Linked DNA regions of Homo sapiens: region 2 is linked to region 1. Evidence: promoter capture Hi-C in 16 types of primary human blood cells and fetal thymus (Javierre and others, 2016). All regions are on one chromosome and are shown on one strand. Each heading gives the region's core, a stretch centred on a gene start or on the middle of the fragment in contact. The rest is flanking DNA. Distances are from core to core; before and after follow the strand shown.

The links. Contacts are between HindIII fragments. The CHiCAGO score rates a contact against its expected background, and 5 or more counts as called.
Region 2: a contact is called between a fragment that was not itself captured here and the fragment with the promoter of SLTM in region 1, in 9 of 17 cell types (activated CD4 T cells, non-activated CD4 T cells, total CD4 T cells and 6 more). The highest score is 8.2, in activated CD4 T cells.

Annotation. Positions count from the first base shown.
Region 1 is chr15:58,931,258-58,936,616 of GRCh38, reverse strand. It overlaps SLTM (SAFB like transcription modulator), which reads left to right and starts at 2,938. Exons shown (of 21, transcript NM_024755.4): 1 at 2,938-3,213; 2 at 4,174-4,261. The coding sequence starts at 3,052. RefSeq lists enhancers at 2,492-2,581, 2,602-2,741, 3,032-3,271 and silencers at 2,772-2,951, 3,322-3,581. The HindIII fragment of the contact is 26,250 bases long and covers 1-4,973 here.
Region 2 is chr15:59,471,489-59,476,288 of GRCh38, reverse strand. The region is part of intron 3 of FAM81A (family with sequence similarity 81 member A); the gene reads right to left. Among named protein-coding and RNA genes, the nearest start is that of FAM81A, 36 kb to the right of the region's middle. The HindIII fragment of the contact is 6,137 bases long and covers 1-4,527 here.

The DNA.
Region 1 (5,359 bases), core at 1,689-4,188:
ATCTCTCTAGATTTCAGCCTTCTCTCAAATTTTGGCCCAGTAATTTCTCATTACCTTGTTATTTCTTTTATGGTTTTTATGTTTTAAAAAGTTTCAAAATGTAGGCCGGGCGCAGAGGCTGACGCCTGTAATCCCAGCGCTTTGGGAGGCCGAGACGGGCGGATCATGAGGTCAGGAGATCGAGACCATCCTGGCTAACACGGTGAAACCCTATCTCTACTAAAAATGCAAAAAAATTAGCCAGGCATAGTGGCAGGTGCCTGTAGTCCCAGCTACTCGGGAGGCTGAGGCAGGAGAATGGCGTGAACCCGGGAGGCGGAGCTTGCAGTGAGCCGAGATTGTGCCAATGCACTCCAGCCTGGGCGACTGAGTGAGACTCCATCTCAAAAAAAAAAAAAGTTTCAAAGTGTTTTGTCAAACATCTTCATTATCTTCAGAGAGACATCTATATGATTTATCTCCCCATCACTATTTAATATAACCTATGTGCTTTTCATTAAGATAAGTACACAATAATGTAACTATTGTCAAAAGGAAATAGCTGAGTCAAATGAAGATGTTTCAAGGTAGGAAAGGTTTAAAAGCCTGTTCGGGCTAGGTGTGATGGCTCACGTCTGTAATCCCAGCACTTTGGGAGGCTGAAGCAGGAGGATAGTGTAAGACCAGGAATTTGAGACCAGCCTGGGCAACATAGTGAGACCCTGTCTCTACAAAAAAAAAAAAAAAAAAAAGAAAAGAAAAGAAAAATTAGCTGGGTGTGCTGGCATGCTACTTGAGAGGCTGAGGGGGAAGGATCACTTGAGCCCAGGAGTTTGAGACCAGACTGGGCAACAACGTGGTGAAACCCTGTCTCTACAAAAAATACAAAAATTAGCCAGGCATAGTGGCAGGCGCCTGTAGTCTAGCTATTCAGGAGGCTGAGGTGGGAGGATCACTTGAGCCTGGGAGGTTGAGGCTGCAGTGAGCCATGATCACGCCACTGCACTCCAGTCTGGGTGACACAGTGAGACCCTGTCAAAAGAATAAAAATAAAAACAAAAACAAAAAAAAGAGAGAGTGTAACTGTAAGTTCCCAGATAAATCTCTTAAAATCTTGAGGGCTGGGCCAGAAGATTTTTTTTTCTTTTTTTCTTTTTGAGACGGAGTCTAGCTCTGTTGCCCAGGCTGGAGTGCAATGGCGTGATCTCAGCTCACTACAACCTCCGCCTCCTGGGTTCAAGCGATTCTTCTGCCCCAGCCTCCCAAGTAGCTGGGATTACAGGTATGCACCACCATGCCCGGCTAATTTTTTGTATTTTTAGTAGAGATGGGGATTCACCATGTTGGCCAGGCTGGTCTTGAACTTCTGACCTCTAGTGATCCACCCACCTCAGCCTCCCAAAGTGCAGGGATTACAGGCATGAGCCACAGCACCCAGACTTTTTTTTTTTTTTTGAGACAGGATCTTGCTCTGTTGCCCAGGGTGGAGTGCAGCGGCCGGATCTCACTGCAACCCCTGCCTTCCGGGTTCAGGTGATTCTCCTGCCTCAGTCTCCCGAGTAGCGGGGATTACAGGTGCTCACCACCACACCCGGCTAATTTTTGTATTTTTTGTAGAGACGGGGTTTCTACTAAACCCTGTATCTTGGCCAGTTTGGTCTTGAACTCCTGACCTCAAGTGATGGGCCAGAAGATTTCTAAGGAGTCTTGCATTCTAAACTTCTATTATTGTGAATCCAATGTTGTAGCAGAGACAGAGCTGGATTTGGAATCAGGAGCCTGGGATTTGAGCACAGCTCGGCCACATACCAGCTGTGTGAACATGGGCAAGTCATTTAATCTCTCTAAGCCTCACGGAGATTTACTTGACAGACTTGGGAAGGATTAAGGGGGTTACTGTACGTCAAAGTGCCTTATAAACTGTAAAGAACTACCCTAATGTCAGGTATTCTTTTATAATGTCCAGTCTTCCTTTTTTTTGAGCCAATCAGAAAAAGTAACCTAAAGTGAGTCAGATCTCAGGAATTTAAGTTGTAAAACCAGGAAATACAGTATAGTTAATTGTGCATCATAATCACCTTATGGAATTTATAGAATCGTTTTATTTTATCAATGCTTGCACTTTGATAATGAATAATACAAGGTAAAATTACAAATAGGTACTCACTTGTACAGGCCGATCCTCCATAAGAAGATGCTCACTGTTCTTGGAATCCCAAATTTTGGGGGGCAAAATAGTGAACACAGTATATGATAACGGCAACAAGTACTTATAAGCTAGTTTTCTCTTTCATTGAACAATTTCGTGTTGAGCCATCAGGTCTACCGGGGAGGATAGCAAACCTGAGGCCAACAAGAAAGAAGTTTTCCTGTTTTTCAAGTGAGGAAGGGCAGCCCTAGAATAACCTAAGCTGCCATGGGCAGGGCGATGATGTTTTCTCCTGAGACAGCCAATGAGCCATGTGTCAAAGGCCAGCCCTTCCTATTCTTTGGACTAACAGCCCTAGAACTGCTTTGAGGTCTTTTGAATGGAACTCGGGGAACCTAGTTCGTTGGTGCACACCGGCGACAATTTTTCGATTATTCAGCAGAACTGATAAAGTATTTCCTTGAGAGGTTCAGCGCGCGCACGCGCCCCCTCGGTTTGTGTTGAGTAACGCGCGCACTATGTCATTCAGTGCCCGCACATCGTTGTTGCTCAAGACTCAAGACGTTGCAAGAAAATGGCTAACGAAGCGACGAGAGAACGGCGGCGCGGCGGACGTTGCTGCGGTAGGACGTGCCCGACCTCCCAGTCCACACAAGGGAGCGCACCGCCCAAGTGGCCGCGGCCCGCTCGACCGAGCGCGCCGCTGCCGGTCCCTGCGCCAACGCGCACGCGCGGCCGTCATCCGGGTGCTGGCGGCTGCTGCTGCAGGTTGCGCTAGGGTGGCGGACCGGGGGAGGGGCCAGCGGCTCATTGTGCGCAGCGCTGCGCGGCGCCGGCGGCCGCCGAGGCCTGGGTGGAAGTTGGCGCTGCTGCCGCCGCCCTGCAGCCCACTCGCTGCCTCGGCAGCGCGCTGCTCTTCTAAGATGGCTGCCGCTACCGGTGCGGTGGCAGCCTCGGCCGCCTCGGGTCAGGCGGAAGGTAAAAAGATCACCGATCTGCGGGTCATCGATCTGAAGTCCGAGCTGAAGCGGCGGAACTTAGACATCACCGGAGTCAAGACCGTGCTCATCTCCCGACTCAAGCAGGTGAGGCCCGGCGAGGACCGGAAAGGACCGGGAAGGGGAACTTAGGCCGCGCCTCGGCGCCCCGCTTCCGCCGCAGCCTCCGGCTGCCCGCAGCCGCTGGGACCTGCGGAACGGCATGGTAGGGAGGCCAGGGGCGGCTCCCGCGAGCGTGGAGGACGGGGACCCTTCCGCGGTGCCCCCGCCCCGCGCCCCGGGCCGGGCCGGGCCTGCGAGGGACCGGCCACCGCAGCCCAGCGTGCCTCCGCCTCCCCGGGACGTCCCCGCCAGGCTGCGAGGGTTGCGGCCGGCCGGCGCGGCCTCCCAAGGGCGATCGCGGAGACCTGGGAGGCGCTGGCTCCCCAGCCTTTAGCCATGGTGAGCGTGTGCATTTCTTGGCCTCAGAGGGAATGGTTACTTTGGTGACTTCTGCGAAGTTACCGTTTAATTGTGCCCAACCGTTTCTTCCCCATCTTGAGGGGGAATTGGTAGTGGGAGTTGATGGGTGGGTGACAGAGTTTTTGTTTTCCACTAGGCTTTTAGTTTTTGCATCAGCGCAATAATTACTTTTTCTTTCCTGATTAGCTTTCTGGTTTGAGTGAGCGTTGGAATTGTAGCAGAGGAGCAGTAAGTTTGCATTACAGAAACTAGGAAAACTCTTTTTAGTTATTTACTTTAGTAGCTAGCAACTTTTCTGCAATAGAACATATTTGGATTTTTGGCCAGTATGATGTGATATTTAATTATCTTGACACGGTAGAATTTAAAACTCCTTGCGATTTTGATACCTAATGATTTTTTTCCCCTGAAAGTTTCTCTCACTCTTTCGTGTAGTTTAATTGCTCATTTTTGAAGTCGGTTGATGAAATGACTGGCAATTCTAATGTCTTGAGGCTTGAGGTTTGCTAAATTTTTTTTCATTTCGTTTTTATAAAATAAGTTTAGATAGATTGTGTAGCATATTAACTTCTCTTTCTAATGTAGGCTATTGAAGAGGAAGGAGGCGATCCAGATAATATTGAATTAACTGTTTCAACTGATACTCCAAACAAGAAACCAACTAAAGGCAAAGGTTGTTACGAGTTATGAACATGTTTTAAAATATATTTTGGTTATATAACTTGCCTCTGCTCTTGTGCCTCTTGCCCTGTTTATATAGTGCTACTCTTTGCTATTTCCCTCTGGCAGTCTGCCTTCTTGGGTCAAGGAAGAAAAGTTACTGTTGCCAGGCTTTGGGTGACTTGTAGCCCTTAAGATTCGGCTGAAGCTGATTAGAAAGTGAGAACAGTTCTTTATTGCTTCCGGAAAAAATTACAAAGTCAAGTTGTGTAATGATGCTTCATAGTGTGAAGACCTGAATAAAATACAGTTTAACACATGTCTACCTTGCCCCACAATTGGCAGAGTTTTGATGGAATTCCTACCAAATCTTTTACCTTGCCTCCTTGCTGTTTTCTTTAGTATATTAAAATTCTATAACCTTTATGTTTAGTACTTTGTTTGACTTGGTGAACTTAATTTGCATTTATGCCATTATACCTCCTAATTTTTAGTGAAATTCAAAAAGACCTCACCAATCATACTAACAAGGTAGAGGGAAAAATCCATGATTAATTAGCTTAAAAAAGTTTTAAATTATAGGGATGTTAAAGATTCTTATTTTTAACTTTTAAGCTAGAGCAAAATATATTTATTTCTAGGATATAATGATTTAGTGACTAGCTAAAAGTGGTTTTAAATGAACGTTTTGCAGTATGAATGGAACTTAGGTATTTTTTAAAGCTTCTTGGTAAATGAAACCTTTATTTGAATAACTGCAAATTTCTCCCTCCTATAAGGACAGTGGCAGAGGGTGGACATGATATATCTGGATTCTGGTCTTTACCTACAATTTTCATGCAGAGTTTGTCATGAACAGCTGCTGCATTTTTTGTAATCTAATTTTCTTTACTGCTTTAAGTGATCCAAGTGTTACTCCCAACCACTGAATGATTGCAACTAAAATAAAATGAATGGATTAATATTGAAAAGGGAATATTAAATTTTGATCTTAAGCACACCTGGGTATCAGAGATGAGGACAACTCACTATTTTAAGTCTTCCTAGGTTAGGAGAGTCCCCTGTTTGTGCCAAAGGAAATTGAAAAGGGCTAATAAGCATTCCCTGGGAG
Region 2 (4,800 bases), core at 210-2,709, 540 kb before region 1:
ATCATACCACTGCATTCCAGCCTGAATGACAGAGCAAGACCCAGTCTAAAAAAAAAAAAAAAATTGTAGGTTAAACTCCTAACCCTTGATGTGATGGTATTAGGAGGTGGGGCCTATAAGAGGTGATTAGGTCATGAGGGTAGAATCTTCACGAATGGGATTAGTACCTTAAAAGAAGGTCTTGCTTCTGCTCTCTACTTTCTGCCATGCAAGGATACGAAAAGACGACCATCTACAATTCAGGCAGCAGGGTCTCACCAGACACTGGATCTACCAGCATTTTGATCTTGGACTTCCCAGTCTCCAGAATCATGAAAAAGAAATTTCTGTTGTTTAAGCTACCCAGTCTATGGTAATTTGTCATAGCAGCCTAAACTAAGACAATCATGATTTCATTTTAATGAAGTTTGGCTATAAGACAGCAATTCTGATCTGTCATCAAGCATCCTAACATGTTTAGGTAGACATGCTTAAGTTCATAATACATATAAATCAATATAATTAGTGTTTCACATTGGAGTCTTAAATTTTTAAACTTCCTTGTTGTTACTTTGTCATTATATATAGTTACTACCAGTTACAAAAAAAGTAAACACTCAAATACAAACTAAATTTTTTGCCAAATTTAGATTTTACTCAGTTTTCCCTGTCTATCACGGAAATCATCACTTGCAAAATTGCACACTCCAAAAATACATGTAAATATAAAAGAGTGCTGTCTGGTTAAGGCAAGAATAACCATTACATAAAATGTGTTTCGGACGTTGGGAAAACAGCAAAATTGAAATTACTTTCTCACTGCATTGTAAATTTTTCAAAAATCATCTTAAAGAAACATGTTTAGGCCAGGCATGGTGGCTCATGCCTATAATTCCAGCACTTTGGGAGGCCATACATAACTGGTTGGTCACTTGAGGACAGGAGCTCAAGACCAGCCTGGCCAACATGGTGAAACCCTGTCTCTACAAAAATACAAAAATCAGCCGGGTGTGGTGGTGTGCCTGAAATTCCAGCTACTTGGGAGGCTGAGGCATGAGAATCACTTGAACCTGGGAGGCGGAGGTTGCAGTGAGCTGAGATCACACGACTGCACTCCAGCCTGGGTGAGGGAGTGAGACCTTGTCTCAAAAAAAAAAAAGGTTTTGGAAAAAATAATTATCAAAAGCCTAAACAATTGATGACTTCAGATTCCTTAGGCAGATTTTTTGATACAGCTGATTATTGAAGCAATTCAAGTGATCTCTCATCAAAGCAAGGATGGGTCAGGGGAGAACTCAGTGAGAACTAAAGCTAGAATTATCTAGTTTCATAAACAAGTTCTTCCTGAAACTCAGAAAGCAAAGAATGGCTGAATAGCACAGCCTGTCACATTTGAGAGTCGATTATAGAAGATCAGGTTCTAGAAGAGCTTCTAAGAGGTAAAGTAGAAAAGAGAAAAGAGCATATTTTTGGAGTTTTGCCACATGGGTTTATTCTCAGCACTGCCACTAACTGGCCTTGATACCTCAGGCCACTTCACTCAGCCTATCTGAAAAGGATGTTCTTTGCATTGATAACCTCATAGTCTCTTCTAGTCCTTTTTGCTACCAGCATATCTACAACTGGCTTCACTCTGTATTGGGCATTTATTCACTTAATAAGTATTTGCTGAGGTTTGAATGATGGCACCCCCTCCAAAAATTATGTTGAACTTAATCCCCATTGTGGTGGTATTAAGAGGCGTGGTATTTCAGGAGGTGATTAAGTCATGAGGGCTCCACCCTGAATGGACTGGGGCCCTTATAAAAAGGGTTTATGGGAGGAGGTCCACTCTGTTCAATCCTTTTGCAATGTGAGGACACAGGATTCATCATTCTTGCCCTTCCACCTTCTGCCATGTAAGCATGCAGCAAGAAGACCCTCACCAGATGCCAAATGCCAGTGCCTTGGGCTTGGACTTCCCAGCCTCCAGAACTGTGAGAAATAAATTTCTGTTCTTTATAAATTACCCAATCTCAGGTATTTTGTTATAGCAACACAAATATACTATGACAGCATTCACCGCATTTTGCTCCAAATATTGTACTAGACAATGCAAAGATGAGGAAGACAAGGTTCCTCTCTTTTTGAGAGGCTTGTAAAGTAACAATGTTAGTCCTATTCAATAAATGCTATAGTAAGAGTGGCACGAGTTCAGTGTCCAGGATACACTGAGGGAAAGGAAACTGGGGGCATGAGAGGAACTGGCAAGGAGGGCTTCCTAAAATGAAGGAACTGTTAAATAGCATCAGTGGCCCAGCTGAAGTTGGAAATTATGTATTTAAAATGGTTCTGGCTGGGCACTGTAGCTTATGCCTGTAATCCCAACACTTTGGGAGGCCAAGGTGAGAGGACTGCTTGGGCCCAGGAGTTCAAGACCAGCCTGGGCAACATAGCAAGACCTTGTCTCTAAAAAAATAAAATAAAATAAAGTGGTTCTGGCCACTGGAGTAGTACGTGGCAGCTACCAAATAGGAAATTATTCCCTGGATCCGACAGTTGCAGCTAAAACACTATCACCTCTTACGTTGACAGAAAAAATTAAGACCAGGATTTCTTAAGGGTAGAGTTATACTGTGCTTTTACCTGGAGGGGACGGTAATGTCAGAATAGACTGACTCCCATCTCTAGTCTTCCCCCACCCCCGTAAGCAAAGGGAACAGAGCTGAGTTCCCACAGGAAAGTGCTGGGTATTCTAAGAATGGGGAAGTAACAGTATTTTCTAATGTGAAACATGGGAAAAGTTTGTATTTTTTGTAACATACCCTGGCACCCTCTTATCTGCAGGGGACACGTTCCAAGACTTCCTGTGGATGCCTGACACTGCAGATAGTACCAAACCCTACATATACTATGTTTTTTTGATCTGATAATCAAGACATCTACTAAGTGACTAACGGGCAGGTAGCATATACAGTGTGGACAAAGTAGTGATTCACGTCCCACCCAGGCCGGGTGGTGAAAGATTTCATCATGCTACTCAGAATGGCACACAATTTAAAACTTATCAATTGCTTATTTATGGATTTTTCCATTTAATATTTCCAGATCATGGTTGGCCACAGATAACTGAAATTGCGGAGAGTGAAGCCACAGATAAAGGGGCCTACTGTACTTCTTTGCCAGTGGTTGAGGGGATGGGAACCTGAGAATTCTTATTGATCCCCATCACTTGGATTTTACCTGTCGTTAGATTTAGGTGCAGCAGAGCTATCAGTCTCTTGATAAATCTGAAATCCCTTTCAAAATTGAAATGTTCGAGTTGGGGTTCTTCAATTTTGTACAGTTGTCAACTTAGGGTTGCTTAGTTTTTAGCGTCTGGGATAAAACTGACTCAGCACCCAAAAATAAAACTGAAAAGATCATTCTTAATATAGATACCAGCATCCAAAGACAAGTATATTATTTACAGCAATTTTGTAAACTTTCTACGTTCCTCTGAGGTCATTGCACTTCTTTAGTTGCAGGTAATTGGACCTGACTAACTTAAGGGGGTTAATGGAAATGATTGGACAACATACCAAGACTCCCGTCTCTACAAAAAATAAAATAATTAGCTGGGCATGGTGGCCTGTGCCTGTAGTCTCAGCTCCTCAGGAGGCTGAGGTGGGAGGATCACCTGAACCCAGGAGTTAGAGGCTACAGTGAGCTATGATCATACCACTGCACAGCCAGACCCCGTCTCCAGAAAACATTTAAAAAAAAAAAAAAGGAATGGGGAAAGGAACACATAATCAACAGGGAAGCTGGGTTATGCAGGTTGAGAAGAAGACACAAAGAGTATTTCCTGAGGTCCAAGCAGCAGGAACTACTAGCCAGTATCCCGCAGGCAAAGTGGCTGCAAGGAAGGTACTATGGCCATTTCCAGTCTTTGAATTAGCCTGCTCAGGTTTTCGTTATGTTTTGGTTTGGTTTGGTTTGGTTTTAGTTTTGAATGTAGCATCTCCCTCTGTTACCCATGCTGGAGTACCCCGGCATGACTACGGCTCACTGCAGCAACCTCCGAGGTTCAACGATTCCTCCCACCTCGGCCTCCCAAAGCACTGGGATTACAGGTATGAGCCACCGCGCCCAGCCCAGCCTGCTCAGGTTTTAAATTCCAGAAAGGGAGGGTCTCAGTGCTCTAGCCTGAGTTATGGGCCCCAACCCCCTTTAGCTAAAAAGGGGATAAGGCAACCTGATTATTAGCCATCCCAGTTTGTATTCAATGAAAGAAAGGTAAATCCAAAAAGAAATCAAATTGCTGTGACCAAAAGAAATCTGGAATGGATACCATAAGGCACCAAAGCAACACAGACCCATTGCACTGTCTTACTAACAAATACACAGTCATTTTCTTTAACCATCATAAGAAGTATCCACTAGAACTCTTAGAACCCTGAAGACAAATGCACTTCAATTAGGATATAATTCTGAGTGAATCCTTGTCCTTAGTAAACATGTGAGAATCTCAAAGAACAGTGAAATTTGATAACTATGTATGTAGGCCAGAGCCAAGAGGCACAAGCTTGGTGAGAATTATCAAAAAAAGGAGACCAGGTACAGTGGCTCATACCTATAATCCCAGCACTTTGGGAGGCAGAGGCAGAGGCTGGGCAACAAAGCAAGACCTCATCTCTACAAAAAAAAAAAATAAGAAAAATTAGCAGGGCATGGTAGCATGTGTCTGTAGTCCCAGCTACTTAGAGGCTGAAGTGGGAGGATCACTTGAGCCCAGGAGTTTGACGCTGCAGTGAGTTATGATTGCACCACTGCACTCCAGCCTGGGTAACAGAGGTTTTG